7 separate regions of the Homo sapiens genome follow, and regions 2, 3, 4, 5, 6 and 7 are each linked to region 1. The links are contacts of gene promoters, found by promoter capture Hi-C in blood cells and fetal thymus (Javierre and others, 2016). All regions are on one chromosome and are shown on one strand. The core of a region is centred on a gene start or on the middle of the fragment in contact, and the rest is flanking DNA. Distances in the headings are between cores, read along the strand shown.

Region 1 (2,794 bases), core at 126-2,625:
AACCCTAAATATTTGCATTCCACTAAAAGCAAAAGTTATTTACTTACAAAGTGTAAATGCTTTAAATTATGGCTATTTCCAATAGGCTTCACACATTTCCATAAACCTAGATTTCTCATTCTTTGGAATTAGATGCATTAGATCACTAGGGAATCTCAACCGATTACAGCCTCCTGATCCCGTCTGTTTACATTCCATCTGCACACACTCCCCTAGACGCAACTAAACAACTGGTTTGGGATGAGCATCATCAACAGCACCTTGTGGCTCATCAAACACCATCTTTACTCAATATGGGTTAAGAACCACACCTGAATGCCAGCACTGATATCTAAGTAACTCTAAGAGGTGGGATGTCATTTTGCTGACTGGAATATTGAACAATCTGGGGACAGATATGCCTGTCCAGACCCAACACAAATTAACAAAAATCCTAAACACAGATAAATCCTAAAGAAAAATGTCAACTCATTTTCTTTAAAGAAAATGCTGTCCATTTAGAGGAGGAGAGGGCCAGCGAGAAAAAGGGAAAACGACCCCCGACTCCCAACACATCTTTTTCTCCATACGGGAAATACAAACATCTCTTTGAAGCGGCTTCTACAAAATCGGATGTTCTAGAGTCCTGAAGGAGCATTGGTCCGGGAACTAAAACAGCCAGCCACCTCCTGGCCACCTGTGTCCAGGTAGAGCAAGGTAGTTTGAGGATGCAGGGTTAGGTTTCGGAAAGGGTCTTCACGCCCAAGCGGACCAAGGCAAGAGAGTCGGCGATCCAGAAAGTGGAGGGCTCGGGCGCTGTTCAGGGGGAGAAAATGGGGCAGCGGGGAGAAAAGAGGATGGGTGCTTGGTTCATATCCCAGCTGTTAGGGCACCAGGCAGGTCGAATCCTCTGGTTGAGACCAGAGCCTCCACTGTTACGCTCCCAGAGCTTCCTTTACCCCCACCCCCGGACACCAACCCGCGCCCACACACCTGCCCGTCGACCCGCAGGTGGCATTCTCTCGGTCAAGGGCACGAGGTGAGAAGGGCAGGGTGCGCCGGGACCCTGTGCAGGTAGCCCCAGCTCACCTGGGAGAACCGGGCGCCCCAGGCTCCTCGCCTCGGCCCCCTGGCCCCCTCGCCCTCTCGCCTCCTCGCACTCACCCAGATCATGAGGCTGTCGCACAGGGGCAGCTTAGGCTGCGGCGGCGGCTGCGTCTCCTCCATGGCCGGCGCCGCCGTCGACGACGCCGCGGACACCTTCACACTCCCTCCTACCGGCTCTCCTCCAGGAGCCGGCGTCCACGACCTGCTAGCCCCCAGGAAAGCTCGGTACCAGGCCCGACCCGCGCAGCTCACGCGCGAACCCTCGCGCTGTCGACGCGTCCGGCGTCACCCCCTCCTCACCCGCCCCCGCCTCGCTCCAGCGTTCGCCCCCTCCCCTTCCTGGGCCCCGGCCGCGCTGCCAGGCACCTGAGCCCCGCCTTCTCCCACCCCTCCCCTCCTCCCACCCGTCCTGCCCACTCCCGCACACCTCGCCCCGCCGCCCTGAGTGACCTGGCCGCGCACCAGTCACAGAGACGGTAGGTACCCGGGGGGGCGGGCGGGGCGGGGCGGGGGCGGGAAGAACCGGGATAGGTTGCGCAGGGGGGATTGCTGATTGGACGTGCCCTCGTGGGCTCTGGCCAATCAACGTGAGACAAGCCTGAGCCTTGGGTAGAGAGTGAGAGTGGGTGGGAAGAGGTTTATGACCTGGCAGGTGCAGTGAGGGCGGGGGTGGGAGGTTGCGCGCGGGAAGCGAGCGCGCGTGCGCGGCGGGGATTGGTAAGGCTGAAGCTCAGCCCCAGTGGCCGAAGAGGCAGAGGGGCAGCAGGGCACCGGCTGGGCTCAGGCGTCTTCCCTCCTTCTTCGCGGTAGCACGCCGCCTCGCTACACCTGTGGAGGGCCCACACTCTGCTTCCACATTGTCTTCAGAAATAGATCCTACCGGCTGGGCGAGGTGGCTCACGCCTGTAATCCTAGCACTTTGGGAGGCTGAGGCGGGTGGATCACCTGAGGTCAGGAGTTCGAGACCCGCCAGGCCAAGATGGCGAAACCCATTCTCTACTAAAAATACAAAGATTAGCCGGGGGTGGTGGCACATGACTGTAATCCCAGCTACTCAGGAGGCTGAGGCAGAAGAATCGCTTGAACCCGGGAGGCACAGGTTGCAGTGAGCCGAGATCATGCCACTGCACCCCAGCCTGGACAAAAAACCGAGACTCTGTCTCTAAAAAATATATAAAACAAAATAAAGAAAGAAAGAAATAGATCATACCCATGAATTAAAACTCTTCGAGGAAGGAAGAGCTGATTTCCTCCTAGGCACTCATTGGAAAGGGATGTTTTCATTTGCACACGTGGCAAATATGCCACATTAATAAGGAAAATAGAATCCGTCAGTGCTCCTTAAATAAGCTCTCACGGGACCATAGATCATGAGCAATTTTATTTTACATGGGGCAAAAGGGAAGACCGTTTTCAAGTAGCAAAATAAACGAAATGTTTTGAAAAACATGGAAGATATTAATGTATCCATTTTCCTTTGTCAGTTGAAAATTTGCTTTTTCCGAGAATGTTGTGGGGTGGAGGGGGGTCGGGGGAGGTGACCTGAAATTGGAAGCTCTCCAAGGTATTGATAGATGGCTTAGGTGATTGAAAAGGGCTAGACTATTCTTAGTCTTGCTGTCACTTCACTCATTCATAAACTCATCAATTCATGCTCTGAGTAAGAAAACAGCTGGCTTTTTTTTATATTGCTGCGTTTTTATATTTA
Region 2 (2,721 bases), core at 80-2,579, 1.1 Mb after region 1:
GCGGCTTGATCCAGGAAATACAGTTTGTAGGTGGTGAAGACAAACAGCTATGTCCTCTGAGTTGACATTTCGCTTTGGATTTTACCAAAAATGAAAGGAGGCAAGAGAAAGACGGAAGAAAGGAGAGAGAAAGCTAAGGGGGAACTAAAGAAAAAGAAAAGAGTTAGTAAGCAGAGAGCTTGCCATTTTTCTGGGATATATCATTTGAAGGGAAGGAAACAAGTGCACACAGGATTTCCTCACCTCCAAGTCCTCAGGATGTAGCATGGCTGATGCAGCAAAGATTCTCAAAGACTTGGCATCTTTCCAGAGGCAAAGCACACCAGAGCAGGCACTTGCACCCGTGGCCATCTGAACTCCAGAGCTGCTTCAAATCACTTTCTCACTGGCAGATTCTTGACACTGATACTCTCTCTGGGTCATGGATACTCCTGTAAATGCAGATCATTAAAAAACCCAGACCAGCAAAGCTGATTGTGTTTACCGGGAGCAGAAAGGGGTGTTCTTTTCCCTCAAGTCATTCTTATGTGATTTTAAACTTTCCTGCTTGCACAACCTGAAGGGAAATCATTAGACTCAAGTTGTTATTTGGTTTTATTTATTTTTAAAATCATTCTGCAGCTTTAGAGTCCGTCTGTTCTACTCATTTAGCAGAGGAGGATGTGGGCAGGGCCAGATGATCTCAGATATAAAGTGAGATGCAAGAGTGTGATATTTATCTCAGGCTGAGGCTGACTGCAAAGGGCCATGATGGCCAGAAATGACAGAGCCCTCCTCCCTGCGCTACACAGCAGGGGCTGGTCCCCTGTGACCTTCTTAGGCACAACTCATTGCAGAGCTGGACCCTCACTTGAGTGGGGGCTGCTATGAACACTGACCTACAATGGCTGTTAAGGTCAAAGCCAGAGGAGGTTTGTATGCAGCACTGCTGAGAAAGACTGTTACCTGAGGCAGTGATACTTGTTAACCAGACCCCAGGCGAGCCCTTTCCACTTAGGATGTCATTATTTCATTTTGTCTCATACCATTTCGTCTTTCCAACAGCCTTCTGAAGTAGAGGTTCTTACCTACCATTACAGATGGTGAAACTGAGGCTGGAGAAGATGAGGACCTTCTAAAGGCACATGGCTAATAAATGGCACAGCCAGAGCTCCAGCCTGTTCACGTTCCACTCCACCATTCACTGTTCATGCCAGTGAACATCACCTTTTTCTTTCTGAGAATCCACCTAAGTTCTTAAATTAGAACAAGCCGTGATCAGACAAAATGGAAATAAAGATGAAATCCCTGCTGTAGAATGTAAGGGTGGGTGTGGGTCTACAGGCTGTCCTGGGAAGGGCCTCAGATGACTCTGTGCTCCCTCCCCCAGGCCCAGGCAGTCTCAGCCCCAGGCCAGGATGGGAAGATACAGAGGCCCAAGGAAAAAGGGGAAAGGGGCCCTTGCTCTGGGGCTAATGAGGTGTAACCACTGCACCCCCAGGCGACAGAGCCTTCCAACATCTCTGGCTCCTTTTATGCCAGATTCAAGCTAATGCTGAAAAATCCAAGTGGTCATATTATATTTTCAAAGGCTTAGTCGGATCAGTAAGAAGAATGCCCTGGAATCTTCACTGATGCAGTGAGGTCTGTTTCCAAGACATGGGGCCTAGAAGCCAAGAATCTCACTGAATCTCATCTGGGCTGCTTAACAGGGGAAAATCACAGCAAGTTCAAGGTGTTGGTGACTGTGATGGAAATGGGCTTCAGTGAGCATGAAATTAAATCAAATAAAAGCGTGGAAAACCTTGAAAAATCCCTTCCCATCTTAAATGAAAACACAGAAAATGTATATGAATAATTCCTTGATGTCCAGTTTTTTCTTCCAAAGTAAATCCCTCGAAGGGTTAGAACAGTTAGGGACAGCATGTGGCCTTCAAAACACACCCTCATATGTAAATAATTAACACAATATCTGTACTTTCAAAATTATTTTTACTATCATATTTTACCTAAACAATGACTTTCTAAAAACAGTTCTTGGCTTTCTCATAAATGTGATAGAAAACAACCTGTGGCATGGAGTTTATACGTAAAACACATTGTGGAAGACCTTCTACACTTTAAGTCCTCAAGTCAGAATAAACAAAAAGATGGCAATATGAGATTTTTGTTGATGCTCTTAGTAGGTCTATTTTATTATATTATGCAGGGTTCTAAAATAGATGATGAGATTCTCATCCTATGAAATGTCCTATGTCTGAGGTAGGACATTAGGAGCTGTGTCAAAATAGGTAAAGATAGAGACCTTGATGTGGCTTGGATGCAGTCTGTGTCCCCACCCAAATCTCATGTTCAATTGTAATCCTCAGTGTTGGAGGTGGGGCCTGGTGGGAGGTGATTGGATCATAGGGGCAGTTTCTAATGGTTTAATGCCATCCCCCCATCCCGGGTGCTGTTCTCAGGCTGTTGACTGAATTATCAAGAGATCTGGTTGTTTAAAAGTGTGCAGCACCTTCCCACCCCCACCTTCCTCCTACTGCAGCCATGTAAGATGTGCCTGCTTCCGTTTCACTTTCTGCCATGATTGTAAGTTTCCTGAGGCCTCCTCATTCATGCTTCCTATACTGCCTGTGGAAATGTGAGCCAATTAAACCACTTTTCTTCATAAATTACCCAGTCTCAGGTAGCTCTTTATTACAATGCAAGAGCAGACTAATACAGACCTGTTCAGTTTAATTCAAC
Region 3 (2,700 bases), core at 1-2,500, 1.1 Mb after region 1:
CTCCCTTGGTACTGTGTAGTGAGCCAGTGAGTTATCATGGGATCTGGTTGTGTAATGGTGTGTAGCACCTCTCCCCTCTCTCTCTTGCTCCTTCTCTGACCATGTAAGACATCCCTGCTTCCCTTTCACCTTCGACCATGATTAAAAGTTTCCTGAGGCCTCCCTGGAAACTGAGCAGATGCCAGCATCATGCTTCCTTTACAGCCTGTGAAACCATGAGCCAATTAAACCCTCTTTTCCTTATAAATTACCCAGTCTCAGGTATTTCTTTATAGCAATGCAAGAACAAACTAATACAAGTGGTATGGGATGGTTGATGAGTGGAGTCTCCAAGAATCTATTAAAGAGAAGAGGGTGAGTGGCAAGCAGGCCTGAACAGATCTTGGAGAAACTGGGATATGAACTAATGACTTGGCATTTATTCTATGGGCCAAGAAATTATAAACTTTCCCACTGAAACACCTCTTATGGCGGAAAGAGCAAACTTGTGCTGCTAAGGTAATATGTTTGGATCTGTGTTCCCTCTGCAAATCTCATGTTGAGCTGTGATCCCCAATGTTGGAGGTGGAGCCTGGTGGGAGGTGATTGATCATAGGGACAATTTCTCATGAATGTTTTAGTACTGTCCCCTTGGTACTGTCCTCAGGACAGTGAGTGAATTCTCATGAGATCTGGTGGTTTCAAAGTGTGTGGCACCTCCCCCTTCCCTCTCTCTTGCTCCTGCTTTTGCCATGTGAAGTGCCTGCTCCCTCTTTGCCTTCTGCCATGATGAAAATCTCCCTGAGGACTCCCCGGAAGCAGATGCCACCATGCTTCCAGTACAGCCTGCAGAACTGTGAGCCAATTAAACCTCTTTTCTTGTAAATTACCCTGTCTCAGGCATTTCTTTATAGTAATATGAGTATGAACTAATATGCAAGGGTTCTGACACCAACTGCTACAACTAAAAAAAAATTCTTTGAAATATTTCAGCCCATCCAAATTTTTCATCTTGGCTATAATATATTCATTTGTTTTCATGTAAAATGATGTTTTTAGTTACTAGCCATCACGTAAAATTAGCATTTTAAAGTGATATTATGTTTAGCTTATGGCTCTGGGACCTGGTCACATACAACAGTTTGGGGAGCACAACCTGAGACAACATGAAGATATTGAACGGCTTTGAGGAACAAAGTAAAATCCAGAAGTTGCTTTTCTGAATTATCTCTGAGCTGCTGTGTAAAAGCGGGGAGATTTGTTTGAAGGCTACTATAACAATCCAAGCGAAACATGATGAGACACTGAAGGCAGACCCTGGCAGGGAGTATGAGAAGAAAGGAACCAATACAGGGAATGAAGAGAGCTTGGGCAAGTCCCTTCACTCCAGAACTCAGCAGAATAAACAGGTTGAACCATATGACAGACAAGGCCCTCCCCAGCCCAAAGATATTGTCACTTTTCTCTGCTTATCTTTACTTTCCCTTATGCTTGCCTCTTAATCTATTATAAGTATTCATAGTTTATTTCACTCAAAAGCCAGCTAAGGGACTTTAGCTGCTAGTTTTGCCAATGAGACAAAATTGTACAGACTTGTTTGTTTTACCTGTTAATATCCCAAGGAACTGTTGTTCTGCGGGACACTCTTTTTTATTTATTTATTAATTTTTTGAGACGGAGTCTTACTCTGTCGCCCAGTCTGGAGTGCAGTGGCGTGATCTCGGCTCACTGCGAGCTCTGCCTCCCGGGTTCACGACATTCTCCTGCCTCAGCCTCCCGAGTAGCTGGGACTACAGGCGCCCGCCACCACACCTGGCTAATTTTTTGTATTTTTTAGTAGAGACGGGGTTTCACTGTGTTAGCCAGGATGGTCTCAATCTCCTGACCTCATAATCCGCCCACCTCGGCTTCCCAAAGTGCTGGGATTACAGGCGTGAGCCACCGCACCTGGCCTCTCAGACTTGTTTGTTTTAAAGGAGGAGAGGAAGTTCTAGATATAAGCAGAGATTTTTTTTTCTTTTTTTTTTTTTTTTTTGAGACAGTGTCTCACTCTGTCACCCAGGCTGCGGTACAGTGGCACAATCTCGGCTCACTGCAACCTCCGCCTCCCTGGTCCAAGCGATTCTCCTGCCTCCCAAGTAGCTGGAATTACAGGCATGTGCCACTGCACCTGGCTAACTTTTGTATTTTTAGGAGAGACGGGGTTTCACCATGTTGGCCAGACTAGTTTCGAACTCCTGACCTCAAGTGTTCCACCTGCCTTGCCTTCCCAAAGTGCTGGGATTACAGGCACGAGCCACTGAGCCCAGCCTATGCAGTGATATTTTGACATAGGATTTGAGTAATTTCCAATTCCAGTTTTGTAACATGTTACCTGACATGTAAAGGCACTCAATAAATAACTGTTGAATTACCGAAGTAATGAATGACGAGTTACGTATTTCAATGCATTCAAAACTTCTTATGGGAAGTCTTCCCTTACATTATCTGTGCAACTTGACCTCATCTTGGCCCTTCTGCCATAATGCAAGGCCTTGTGCTTATGCTGTTGTCTCTGCTTAAAATGCCCTTTGTCTCGTAACCCATCTGGAAAATGTCTACTCACTTGTCATAACTCAGTTCTCACATATATTGTTAGAGAACAGTGTAACTATGTAAAATGAACATAGGCATTAGAGTTGCAAAGACCTAGGTTCACATCCAGGCTCTCACACATACAAT
Region 4 (2,871 bases), core at 100-2,599, 1.2 Mb after region 1:
ATATTGATAATGATAGCCCACATTTAATGAGCACCTATAATTAAACAGACACTATTCTAAGCACTATTCATTCATTAGCTCATATAGTTGTTCCAATAACCAGATTGGGTTGCTATTTTTATTATTATATTTATTTTGCAAATGAAAAAACTGAGGCACAGAAAGCTCAAATGCCACAAGATCACATAGCTAGTAGCAGCTGTGGCAGACAGAGGTGGGCTGTACTTATTCCCTTGCAAGAAAGGATGCCTTGCCTAGCTGTGAGAAGGTGGTGGGCTGACAGCTTCCACTTGTTCTTTCTGGTCTCCTTCAGTTCTTCCCAGTGCAGCCCCAGCCAATGACTGAGCAAGGTTTAGGCACTTCCACCCAAAGCAGGATTCCTGTAATGGGCTCTTTCCTCTAGAGCTCCCCTTTAGGCAGAGAGGCTTTTTCTACTTGATCTACTTCACGGTTTAATGGCTTCCTCTGACCAGTCCTGCTTCTAAGAAAAGAAGTTTCTTGTGAAAGTAGAAGAAATTCCTTTCACAAGTTTACCCAAATATGCCTGTTTGTCCTAACTGCATCTCCGCATCTGCTTCTCAGTAGACAGAACTAGCAGTGTGATGTGGTTTGGCTCTGTGTCCCCACCCAAATCTCATCTTGAATTGTAATCCCCACAATCCCCATGTGTCAAGGGAGGGACAAGGTGGGAGGTGATTGAATCATGGGGGCACTTCCCCCCATGCTGTTCTCATGATAATGAGTGAGTTCTCAAGAGATCTGATGGTTTTATAGGGCAGTTTTCCCTGCTCTTGCTCACTCTCTCTCATCTGCTTCCATGTAGGACATGCCTCTTTCCCTTCCACCATGATTGTAAGTTTCCTGAGGCCTCCCCAGCCATGCAGAACTGTGAGTCAATAAAACCTCTTTTCTTCATAAATTACCCAGTCTTGAATATGTCTTTATGGCAGTGTGAAGATGAACTAATAGACAGCATCAGAACAGGATCCAATGCCTAGGTAATTTAAATGACTTTTCTATGCACCCCAACACCCATACCTCCTTTCTGTCTGTATTTTCACACCATGCTGGCATTTTTGGATTTGGAGTCCGATTTGCCTGTCTGTGATAAAATATATATAACACAGAATTTGCTATTGTAATCATTTTGAAGTGTACAATTCAGTGGTGTTAATTATAGACACCCCTCAGTATACAAGTGGGATTAATTCTAGAACTCCTCTGCCCCCAACATATATCCAAATCCTGTATACTCAAGTCCTGTAGTCAAGCCCTGTGGAACCTATATACATGAAAAGTTAGCCCTCTTTACACTTGGGTTCACATTCTGCAAATACTGTGTTTTCAATCTGCATTTGGTTGGAAAAAATCTTTCTGTAAATAGACCCATGCAATTCAAACCCATGTTGCTTAAGGGTCAGTTGTACATTCACACTGTTGTGCTACCATCCTCATGATCTGCTTCCAAAACCTTTTCATCACCTCAAATAGAAACTCTGTAATCATTAAATAATAATTGGAGTCTGATTTTTAGATACTAAAAGTAAACTGAGCTCTATCAGGACAGTAACGCTATTTTACTTATCTCCATCTATAGTATCTTAGTAGCGCCTTGCAGTTACTAGGCAAACAAGATATTGCTTATTAAACTGAAGAATTAAAAGAAAATTCCTACTGAGATAACCTGAAAAGACTTCCTGGAAGAGGTGATATTCTAATAAGATTTCAGTAGGTGGGGAGGAGGGAAGGGCATCCTATGCCAAGGGAAGAGTAGGGAGAGGGCAAACTGTTGATTGTCAACCCAAAGTCAATGTTTCCTTGCCAGAACTGCAGTTTTGTTTAGGATAGCGAAGTGCACAACTAACACATATATACACATTTTCTAGCCTCTCATTCAGATTGAGGTAGCCATTTGACTGAGTTGTGACCAATGAGGTGTAAGCAACGGACTAGTGGGGATTTCTCAGTCTGGTTGATATACCTGATACAGGTAGAGACATTTCCTTTCTTCTTCTTCCTTCTACTTTTTGTCTGGAATATAGATGTCATGGCTGAAGCAATACTAGCTGACTCACAGGCATTAGGAAGGTGCCTGGAAAAATGTGGAGTCAGTGGTCCTGACACTTTTAAGCCATGGGACTAGAAGTTCTAGAGTTCTCTCTCTCTCGCTCTCTCTCTCTCTGTGTGTGTGTGTGTGTGTACACATACATGTGTGCATATGTGTAATGCCTAACTGTAAAATGTGGTTGAGTTTTTACTTGTTTGCAGTTAATGCAAGTCCTAACTGATACAATGGTTAAAGGCAGGGAGACTTGTATCTGAGACTGAGATATCAGAGAAAGTTTGTTAAGAAAGGCTATCCAACAAAGTAAACAAGATAAAGTACCTACTGAACAATTACTATGGCCTAGAATGCCAGCTTCTATGTATTTGATGTGCTCTGGCTGTTACAGAAGATAGAGTAAAGGAAATCCCATTGAGGGTGACTTGGAAAAAGCCCCTATAGAGGTAAATAAAATAATGAAGAAAATAAATGAAGTCTTTGGGCCTGGTCAGGTACTTTTTTTCCCCTCCCTGGGAAAATAGAATTTGCCAGTGCTGAAGCCAGGAAATTTAGGGCTGGAAACCAGATTCCAGATTGGAAGTCAGAGATGCAGAAAAGAATGAAGAGACACAGAAAAGAATGCAGAAAAGAAAAAGATTAATTTGGCCAGGCACAGTGACTCATGCCTGCAATCCCAGCACTTTGGGAGGCCTAGGTGGGAGTATCACTTGAGCCCAAGAGTTTGAGGTAATACAGGGCATGGGCAATACAGGGAGACACTATTTCTGCAAAAAATAAAAAAAAATTAGCCAAACATGGTAGAATGC
Region 5 (2,700 bases), core at 145-2,644, 1.1 Mb after region 1:
TGGCTTTGTTACTTTAAGCAACTACTTAATCTCACAGAATCTCATGCTTTTTTAACTTACGAATTGTGAATAATAATAATACCTCCCTCAAAGTATTGTTGTAAGAAAGAAACGAGATAGACTATATAAAGATGCTAGTACTAGGTATTCAGTAAGCCTTGCATGCACAAAGTACTCAAACTTGAGTTCTCTTTCCTCCTCCGCATTCCCTGCCCTCAACTTCTCACCTGAGTACTATTCTAGGCACAGTAATTAGTAATTCATCCTTCCCATAAGGGGCTTGTATTTCTAATAGGAAAGACAAAACCTATGGTAAGTTCAATAAGGTTGGTCCCAAGAATTGTAAGTTTCTCCCAAAGGCTGTGATCAGGGCAGGTTTCGTAGAGTATGTGGGGTATAATCTGATCTGAAGGATCTGCAGAAGAATCTCAAAATGGAGATGAATACACTTTAGGCTGAGGGAACAAAGCTGGAGACATGGGAAAATACTAGATATATTCTGGAAAAGGTGCATAGTTCATTTGGACTAGGGTGTAAGTTGGTCGTAGAAATGGAATAGAGATTTACTTTATTTTATAAACACTTATAAAGGGCTTACTGTGTGTCAGACAATGTCAGTATTTTATAAACATTAACTCAGTCTTCACAATAATACCATGACAGTGGTATTATTGTTTACTTTTTATTATTAATTTTATTGTTCCCATTTTTAAAGATGAGGTAACTGAAGCATGAAAGCTTTAGAATTTGCCTAGGGTCACCAAGCTAGTAAATAACTGGGCCAGACATTCTAGATCCAGAATCTGTTCTTAATCATTACTCTGCACTGTCTCTCAGTTGTGAAAGAAAACTCAACACAGTAGAATATGGTAAGTAGAAATGGGAAATAAAAGACTCAGGTGATTCTGACGTTTTTGAACCTGGGTGACTGGTACCATTGATTGAAATGGGCAAATCAAGAGAAGGAGTAAATTTTCAGTTTGGGATGGCCGTGTCTTTTGAAACAATTTTTTAAAAATACTGTCCAGTCTTTCTACATGTTGGTAGCAAAAAGGAAGCCCATCTATATCAATTTAGTCTCTCTTGTCCTCACATGCCCTTCAATTTGATTTTAAAGGACTATTTTTATTCTGCCTCTTAGTAGATGATGGACTCCTTAATCAATTGGCATTTTGTTTTAGCATCTCTCTGCTGAGGAGTTGGCAAAAAGAAGAGAAGAGGAAAAAGGCAGACCTGTTAAATCTTTAAAAGTGCCAAGACCAACAAAAAGGTGTAGTGTTATATAAATGTGGTTTTTAAACATTTATCACAAATGGCTAGATAATATATGAAAAAATATTCAATAGCTGCATTATATTGTTCACATTAAGTTTAAAAAAATACTGCTACAATTTTTTAGATTTTTTTTGTTTCACTGATTATGAATTTGGAAGACCTTGAACAAACATTTTAAATTTGTTCAGATTCATTGAACATATGATCCAACATATGTTGTAAAGGGGCCCTGTTTAGGACAGGTTGGTCATTCAACTCTAGACGCTATGGACAGGAACCTTCATGAAATGACTGGGTTTTCTTTGGGTGGTACTAATTGTTAGCAAGTTGTTGCATGGTTTGTTGTTTTCTAATGCATGTGTAATCTAAAATTTGAGCCTTTTAAAATTAAGGGTCACCAAATAAGTTAAATGTTCCGATTTTCTATTCCCTCTTCCTGCAGATGCCCCATTGAATAGACTGTAGTTTTGTCAGTGTACCTTTTAAAAGAAGATATCCAGGAATGCCACTAGATCATATTTTTGCCTGATAAATGTCCTCGGGTAATCCTTAGGTTCTCATTTATTAAACAATAATTTAAATAACACTGTTAGCTGTATTTTAAGCACTTTATATTTATTAGCTCATATAGTCTTCATGACAACCCTGTGCATTAGTTAATGTTCTCACTCCCATTTTATAGATGAGGAAACTGAGAGGCATAGAGAGGTTTAATAACTTGCTCACGCTGTCAAGTAGTGGAGCTGTTGATTTTAAACCCAAGTGTTAAGCTTAAGAGTTCATACCCCTAATCATTACAGTATATATTACCTCTCTAAAGTAAAAATAAAACTTACACAGTTGTCGTGAGACTGAATTAGATAAACTATGTAAAAAATAGTCCTCCATAAGCTAGGACTCCTCATCCAGTATCCAGATAATTGATTTTCTGACTCTAAATGTGAGACTTATATTTATTGTGATTTTCAAGTCATTGTTCAAGGTCTTCAGGATCTTTTTGAATCCAGATCCACTTTTCTCATTTTAGCCTTTGTAGCACTGTATCATTAACATTTCAATAAGCTTGCCTTTCCTGCCATTACTCACTGATTGCAATGTTTAATTGAATAAATGTAAACCTCATTGTATATATTTAAACAACGAAGACATTCATTCTTCAATCAGCTATATAGATTACCACAATTAACGCATATATCTTCATCTTATACAGAAGGATAATCATATCGGATGTCTTGTTTAATTTCAGATAAAATATATTTAAGTCTTTAGTTTCTAACAGATTATTCCTATCAATAGTGTCTACAATAAGGTCTACTTATCATGACTTTTCATGAACTCATTATTTTACTTAGTCACCTCTTCACTTGGTTAAGGATCACAAATCAGCTGTTTCATAATTTTTTCTAGAATTTTACTACTGTTCAA
Region 6 (2,770 bases), core at 44-2,543, 1.2 Mb after region 1:
AAGTGCAACATAACTTGGGTAATTATGAGGCGTCAGCGGTGTTACCACTTTATATCCTGAGTATTTTTATCACTACGAGTTGGGTAGCAACTGCTCAAACATTTTCATCCATCACCTTGTGTTCTCTTCTGTGGGGTTCATACATGGAAAACAAAATGAAAAAAAAAACCAAAAAACAGAAAAAACAGGCAAAAGGGTAGAATCCATTTAAAGATGACTAAGGTGCCTTAGTCATGCTGGATTTGAGGTCCAGCAGTGGGATGGGTTCTGCATTTTCTGGGCAAGTGATTTTTCTGTCAGGCAAACAGGACTAGGTGCATCATCCACAGCCCTGCCTGAGGGGAGCCAGGAGAGACAGGTCCAGCTCCAGCCCACACCCAGGACCTTTCTCCACTTTGAAAGATGCCTGTGAATTGCACTTCCGTTTCACCCAGGAAATCAATGCAGCCCAGCTTCTCTGCCCAGGGCCCAGCGGAGGAAGATATATCATACTCTGGGCAGACCCAGAATGCAGTTAGTTACCGTCTCCTCCTTAGGAGGGAGAACAACAATAGAACCAAAATAGCAATGCTAAAAAGCAGACATTTGGAGGGCTTGGGGGCCTTTTGTTGCTGCAAAAGGAGAAGGAAAGGATTTTGCCATGTCCCTGGGGTTTACGCGTTCAAGAGCCCTCCCTCCTGATCCAGGGACCTGGGACAGGCTGTGGGACCTGCAGGGCTCTATGTGGCATGAAGTTCCTTCTGGTTTTGTAGAGAGACAGGGCTGTACAATAGGAGCCCTGGATTTCTGGTCAAAAGCTTTCTTGGTGAAATAGATCTGGACAGGAAGAGAAGAGAGAAAAGGCACTCTAGGCAGAAGGTGCCCCGGAAGCGGTGGCACAGTGCCAAGAATTGTAGATTTCCGTGAGGCTGGTGTGCATCGTGTGTGGCTAGGAGTCGGGGACCACAGAAGGGGATGTGGACATGGGGTCAGGTCCCCCAGGGTGTCCAATGCTATTTTAGAGAGGGGTGCTTTCATGTTCCTCATGGAAAGAGATTCAGGCAATCAACAGCCAACATCTTCAAATCCTAAAATGAAAAGGTTTCTCTAAGCCAGTAGTATTCAGACTTTTATTTAGTTAGAAATCGCTGTTGAAAACAAATCTTGCATTAAAACCAAGCATATAAAACAAGTAATAACCAAAAAATAGAAAAAACCCAACTGGATATCAACTGATAAATGGATAAATTAAACATGGTCTACCCATACAATGGAATTATTATTCAGCCACAAAGAGAAATAAAGCACTGACATATATTACAACATTAATGAGCCTTGAAAACATTATGCTTAGTGAAGAAGTCAGACATAAATGACCACATTTTGTATTATTCCATTTCTAGAAAATGTCCAGAATAAGCAAATCATAGATAGAAAAAGTAGATTAGAAGTTGCCAGAGTCTCAGGTGGGAAGAAGGGATTGGGGAGTGACTGCTAATGGATACAGGATGTCTTTTTGGGGTGATGACATGTTCTGGAATTAGTGGTGATGGTGACGGTTGTACAACCTTGTGAATATACTAAAAACCACTCCGGATACTAAAAACCACACTTAAAAGTGGTGAACTTGATGATCTATGAGTTACATCTAGAAAGAGAGAGAGACGGAGGGAGAGAGGGAAGGAAGGAAGGAACCAAGCAGAGCCGATTTGGCTGAAGGGAGGAGGCACTGGGAAGTACAGTGGCCCTTATGGTTGGCCCTGTTTATTTCCAATGTCTGCCCAATCTCTCACCCAAGTTTTAAGCTTGGCTTCCAGATCCCTGGGGAGCCAAGTAGGAGAAAAGATATAGACACCTCAAAATTGAGCATGTAAACTTTCACCTAATCCTCCAATTTTTCCCCACTCCAGAAAGGTTCTGCTTCACTTTCTCCAGAGACTGACCAGGCAGCGACTACCCTCTTGGGGGTGAGATGGTCAGTAGCCTGCTAAGGAAGCAGGAAGCCACTAAGGGATAACTACATCTTAAACCCACTTTCTCTCTCTCTCTCTCTCTCTCTCTCTCTCTCTCTCTCTGTGTGTGTGTGTGTGTGTGTGTGTGTGTGTGTGTGTGTGTGTGTGTGTGTGTGTTTGAGACAGTCTCACTGTGCCACCCAGGCTGGAGTGCAGTGGTGTGATTTCGGCTCACTGCAACCTCCATCTCCCAGGTTCAAGCGATTCTCCTGCCTCAGCCTCCTGAGTAGCTGGGATTACAGGCATTCACCACCACGCCTGGCTAATTTTTCTATTTTTAGTAGAGATGGGGTTTCAACATGTTGGCCAGGCTGGTCTCCAACTCCTGACCTCAAGTGATCCTCCCCCGGCAGCCTCCCAAAGTGCTGGGATTACAGGCGTGAGCCACCGTGCCTAGCCTTAAACCCACAACCCACCTTCTACCAGCTATCATCATTCTAGCCCCACTGGCATCCCCAATTCCAGATGTCCCTGGTGCTACAAATTCTTGAGCTTTGGGGGTTCCACAAGGTAAATCAGGTCACTTCTTGAGGGTCTGCTTCTCCCACTCTCCAGACCTGCTAAGTCAGACCCCATGCATTGATTCATTATTGTCACGTCTCTCAAAACAAAGCCCCCCTACTACCTTGCTGTGCTTGAGTGATGTTTCAGGAGGGCATGGGATTTCATTGTGTGTGACCAATCCATTAACCCAAATCCAGCATGCTTTTCTATAGTTTCTACATTCCCTTTGATTAGCATATATTATTATTATTTTTTAAGAGACAGGGTCTCACTCT
Region 7 (2,700 bases), core at 42-2,541, 1.1 Mb after region 1:
TTTAATGATTATGAGGAAAGTACAGGTTTCAGGGTGAAAAAAATCTATAAATGCAAAATTTACAAGAGGCCACTGTTTACTAGATGGATTTTATACAGCACCAGACTGCTATTATATAATTTCATGTTACCTATGTATGCAAAAAGCAGCATTTTCTTCCTCAGGTTCTGTTTTACTGTAACATCTGAGATCTGATTGCATATTTTGAGTTTCTGTCACTAGCCAACTGTTTATGATATCTGAATATTGAGTAGAAATGATAGAATATTTAAGTCATTTTGAACCTTAAGTCCAAGCTTGCATTTTTAAGTTATATAAGCTGAAACCCAGAGATGTTAATTTTCCAAGGGCACAGAGTTGGAACATGTAAAAGTTCTTCTCACTTCATAATTTACAGGTGTTACGTGGGAGGAATCTAAATAAAAAGCACAAAACAAATACTATAGAATGAAGATGTTTTCCCTACATTTGTGGATCCTTATTTATAGCTCAGTTTTCGTACATGTAAAAGGAGAGGATTGAATGAAATGATTTCTGATTTTATGATTTATAAAGATAGCTAGTCATAGTCTAATAAGTAGTGGTTTATTAATCTCCTTCATCTTCATTTTATGGATTTCTCCTTACTAAGCCAGAATTTCTCTGTTCCCACTATTTCCACTTATTGCCATGTTGATTTTAGAGTGTCTCTGTACCTTTAATTATCATAGGTTAACCCCATTTAGGCTTTCTTATTCTCTAATTCTCCCCAGACATTGCAGTTATAGCCTAGATTATTGCTATTCAGAGAAAGTCACATATAATTTAAAATTTTCCGATATCCTCATTTAACACAAAGGAAATTAATTTTAACTATATATTATATAACCTAAAATATTTAAAATATTCTCATTTTAACATTTAATCAAGATAAAAACATTAATGAGATAATTTTACATTTTTGTACTAAGTCTTTGAAATCCACTGTGTTTTGTTTTGTTTGTTTTTTGAGACGGAATCTCGCCTTGTCACCCAGGCTGGAGTGCAATGGTGCGATCTTGGCTCACTGCAACCTCTGCCTCCCTGGTTCAAGCGATTCTCCTGCCTCAGCCTCCTGAGTAGCTGGGATTATGGGCGCACACCACCACACCTGGCTGATTTTTTGTATCTTTAGTAGAGATGGGGTTTCACCATGTTGGCCAGGCTGGTCTTGAACTCCTGACCTCGGGATCTACCTGCTTCGGCCTCCCAAAGTGCTGGGATTACAGGTGTGAGCCACTGCGCCCGGCCAAAATCCACTGTGTTTTATACTTAGAGTACATCCTAGTTCATGCAAATAGTGTTTCCACTGGTCAGAAACCAGCGATGCACATGTGGTTGGTGGCCACTGTCTAGATAAAACACTTAAGTAGTCAGTGGTTCACTTCTAGATATGGAAACAAATAATGAGAGTATCTTTGTTCTCAGCATCTATACCTAGCATAGTACCTGACATATGCAGTAGATAGCCAATAAATACTTGTTAAGTGAAGAATATCTCAGGCTAATCTTAAAGTACTTCATCAGGCTAGTTTTTTGTTTTTGTTTTTTTTTTTTGAGACGGAGTCTCGCTCTGTCGCCCAGGCTGGAGTGCAGTGGCTCAAACTTGGCTCACTGCAAGCTCCGCCTTCCAGGTTCACTCCATTCTCCTGCCTCAGCCTTCTGAGTAGCTGGGACTACAGGCGCCCGCCACCACGCCTGGCTAATTTTTTCTGTTTTTTAGTAGAGATGGGGTTTCACCGTGTTAGCCAGGATGGTCTCGATCTCCTAACCTTGTGATCCGCCTGCCTCGGCCTTCCAAAGTGCTGGGATTACAGGTGTGAGCCACCGCGCCTGGCCTCATCAGGCTAGTTCTAATAACTTTAAGAGGGAAGTTCTCTGGTAGATTTGATCTAAATGTTTGCAATTTTTATTAAGGTAGAGAAGATCCTTGGATTCTTCTCTGTTGGCTTTAGAAATGTGGAAAATTATTCCCGAATTGCCTTGGACAACCAACCAAGTTTACCTATTACATTCTCCATATGTTTTGGAAGAAAATATTTAAACCAGGGTGTCCAGTCTTTTGGCTTCCCTGGGCCACACTGGAAGAAGAATTTTCTTGGGCCCCACATAAAATACACTAATGATAGCTGATGAGCCAAAAAAAAAAAAAAAAATCACAAAATAATCTCATGGTGTTTTAAGAAAGTTTACGAATTTGTGTTGGGCCACATTTGAAGCCGTCCTGGGCCACATGTAGCCTGCAGGCAGAGGATTGGACAAGCTTGATTTAAACATGGAGGCTGTTTCTTGTAGTCACTTCTAATTGGGAAGACAAGGGAACTATTAATAACATTTATGTAGCACACGTTTTGTATAAGTAATGTAAAAATTACATGACTGTAATATTGTTTAAAAAGTTTCCTTGATAGTTACACAGATATTATTTATCTAAAAAATCACAACCGGAAAAAGTCTGGCTTGATCAAAAGGAAGATGATAAAAAATACATGAAGAGGTAAAATCAATTTATAATATTTCTAAAAGTCTGGATTGTAGTTTTAGAAACCTCACACGCTTCCTTATTTTCTTTTTTCATGTGATGCAGTCTGCAGAAAACAGCAAAAATCATGTATGTACTTATATTTTATATTTATAAATCTGTTTTCATTAGTTAAAAATTATGGAATAATTTTTTTTTAA

Evidence for each region. Contacts are between HindIII fragments. The CHiCAGO score rates a contact against its expected background, and 5 or more counts as called.
Region 2: a contact is called between a fragment that was not itself captured here and the fragment with the promoter of HOOK1 in region 1, in 9 of 17 cell types (naive CD4 T cells, total CD4 T cells, non-activated CD4 T cells and 6 more). The highest score is 14.5, in naive CD4 T cells.
Region 3: a contact is called between a fragment that was not itself captured here and the fragment with the promoter of HOOK1 in region 1, in 11 of 17 cell types (naive CD4 T cells, naive B cells, total CD4 T cells and 8 more). The highest score is 14.3, in naive CD4 T cells.
Region 4: a contact is called between a fragment that was not itself captured here and the fragment with the promoter of HOOK1 in region 1, in 1 of 17 cell types (activated CD4 T cells). The highest score is 5.8, in activated CD4 T cells.
Region 5: a contact is called between a fragment that was not itself captured here and the fragment with the promoter of HOOK1 in region 1, in 10 of 17 cell types (total B cells, naive CD4 T cells, total CD4 T cells and 7 more). The highest score is 17.4, in total B cells.
Region 6: a contact is called between a fragment that was not itself captured here and the fragment with the promoter of HOOK1 in region 1, in 9 of 17 cell types (naive CD4 T cells, non-activated CD4 T cells, total B cells and 6 more). The highest score is 9.7, in naive CD4 T cells.
Region 7: a fragment that was not itself captured here is called in contact with the fragment with the promoter of HOOK1 in region 1 in 10 of 17 cell types (naive CD4 T cells, naive B cells, total B cells and 7 more); the score reaches 22.5 in naive CD4 T cells.

What each region holds. Positions count from the first base shown.
Region 1 is chr1:59,813,530-59,816,323 of GRCh38, reverse strand. HOOK1 (hook microtubule tethering protein 1) reads right to left here and starts at 1,375. Exons shown (of 22, transcript NM_015888.6): 1 at 1,144-1,375. The coding sequence starts at 1,206. LOC105378758 (a long non-coding RNA gene) reads left to right here and starts at 1,458. Exons shown (of 5, transcript XR_947426.3): 1 at 1,458-1,562. RefSeq lists an enhancer at 508-1,071 and a silencer at 1,308-1,907. The HindIII fragment of the contact is 6,303 bases long and covers 1-2,794 here.
Region 2 is chr1:58,716,271-58,718,991 of GRCh38, reverse strand. LOC112268263 (a long non-coding RNA gene) reads right to left here. Exons shown (of 9, transcript XR_007066129.1): 4 at 1,072-1,235; 5 at 244-431. Among named protein-coding and RNA genes, the nearest start is that of MYSM1, 18 kb to the right of the region's middle. The HindIII fragment of the contact is 5,773 bases long and covers 1-2,721 here.
Region 3 is chr1:58,732,456-58,735,155 of GRCh38, reverse strand. The region is part of intron 5 of LOC112268263 (a long non-coding RNA gene); the gene reads right to left. Among named protein-coding and RNA genes, the nearest start is that of MYSM1, 34 kb to the right of the region's middle. The HindIII fragment of the contact is 3,546 bases long and covers 1-2,700 here.
Region 4 is chr1:58,608,345-58,611,215 of GRCh38, reverse strand. No RefSeq gene overlaps it. Among named protein-coding and RNA genes, the nearest start is that of TACSTD2, 33 kb to the right of the region's middle. The HindIII fragment of the contact is 3,858 bases long and covers 1-2,871 here.
Region 5 is chr1:58,670,440-58,673,139 of GRCh38, reverse strand. It overlaps MYSM1 (Myb like, SWIRM and MPN domains 1), which reads left to right. Exons shown (of 20, transcript NM_001085487.3): 12 at 1,182-1,270. Among named protein-coding and RNA genes, the nearest start is that of MYSM1, 28 kb to the left of the region's middle. The HindIII fragment of the contact is 1,307 bases long and covers 741-2,047 here.
Region 6 is chr1:58,647,863-58,650,632 of GRCh38, reverse strand. No RefSeq gene overlaps it. Among named protein-coding and RNA genes, the nearest start is that of MYSM1, 51 kb to the left of the region's middle. The HindIII fragment of the contact is 987 bases long and covers 800-1,786 here.
Region 7 is chr1:58,690,155-58,692,854 of GRCh38, reverse strand. MYSM1 (Myb like, SWIRM and MPN domains 1) reads left to right here. Exons shown (of 20, transcript NM_001085487.3): 4 at 2,438-2,515; 5 at 2,606-2,629. Among named protein-coding and RNA genes, the nearest start is that of MYSM1, 8.6 kb to the left of the region's middle. The HindIII fragment of the contact is 1,985 bases long and covers 299-2,283 here.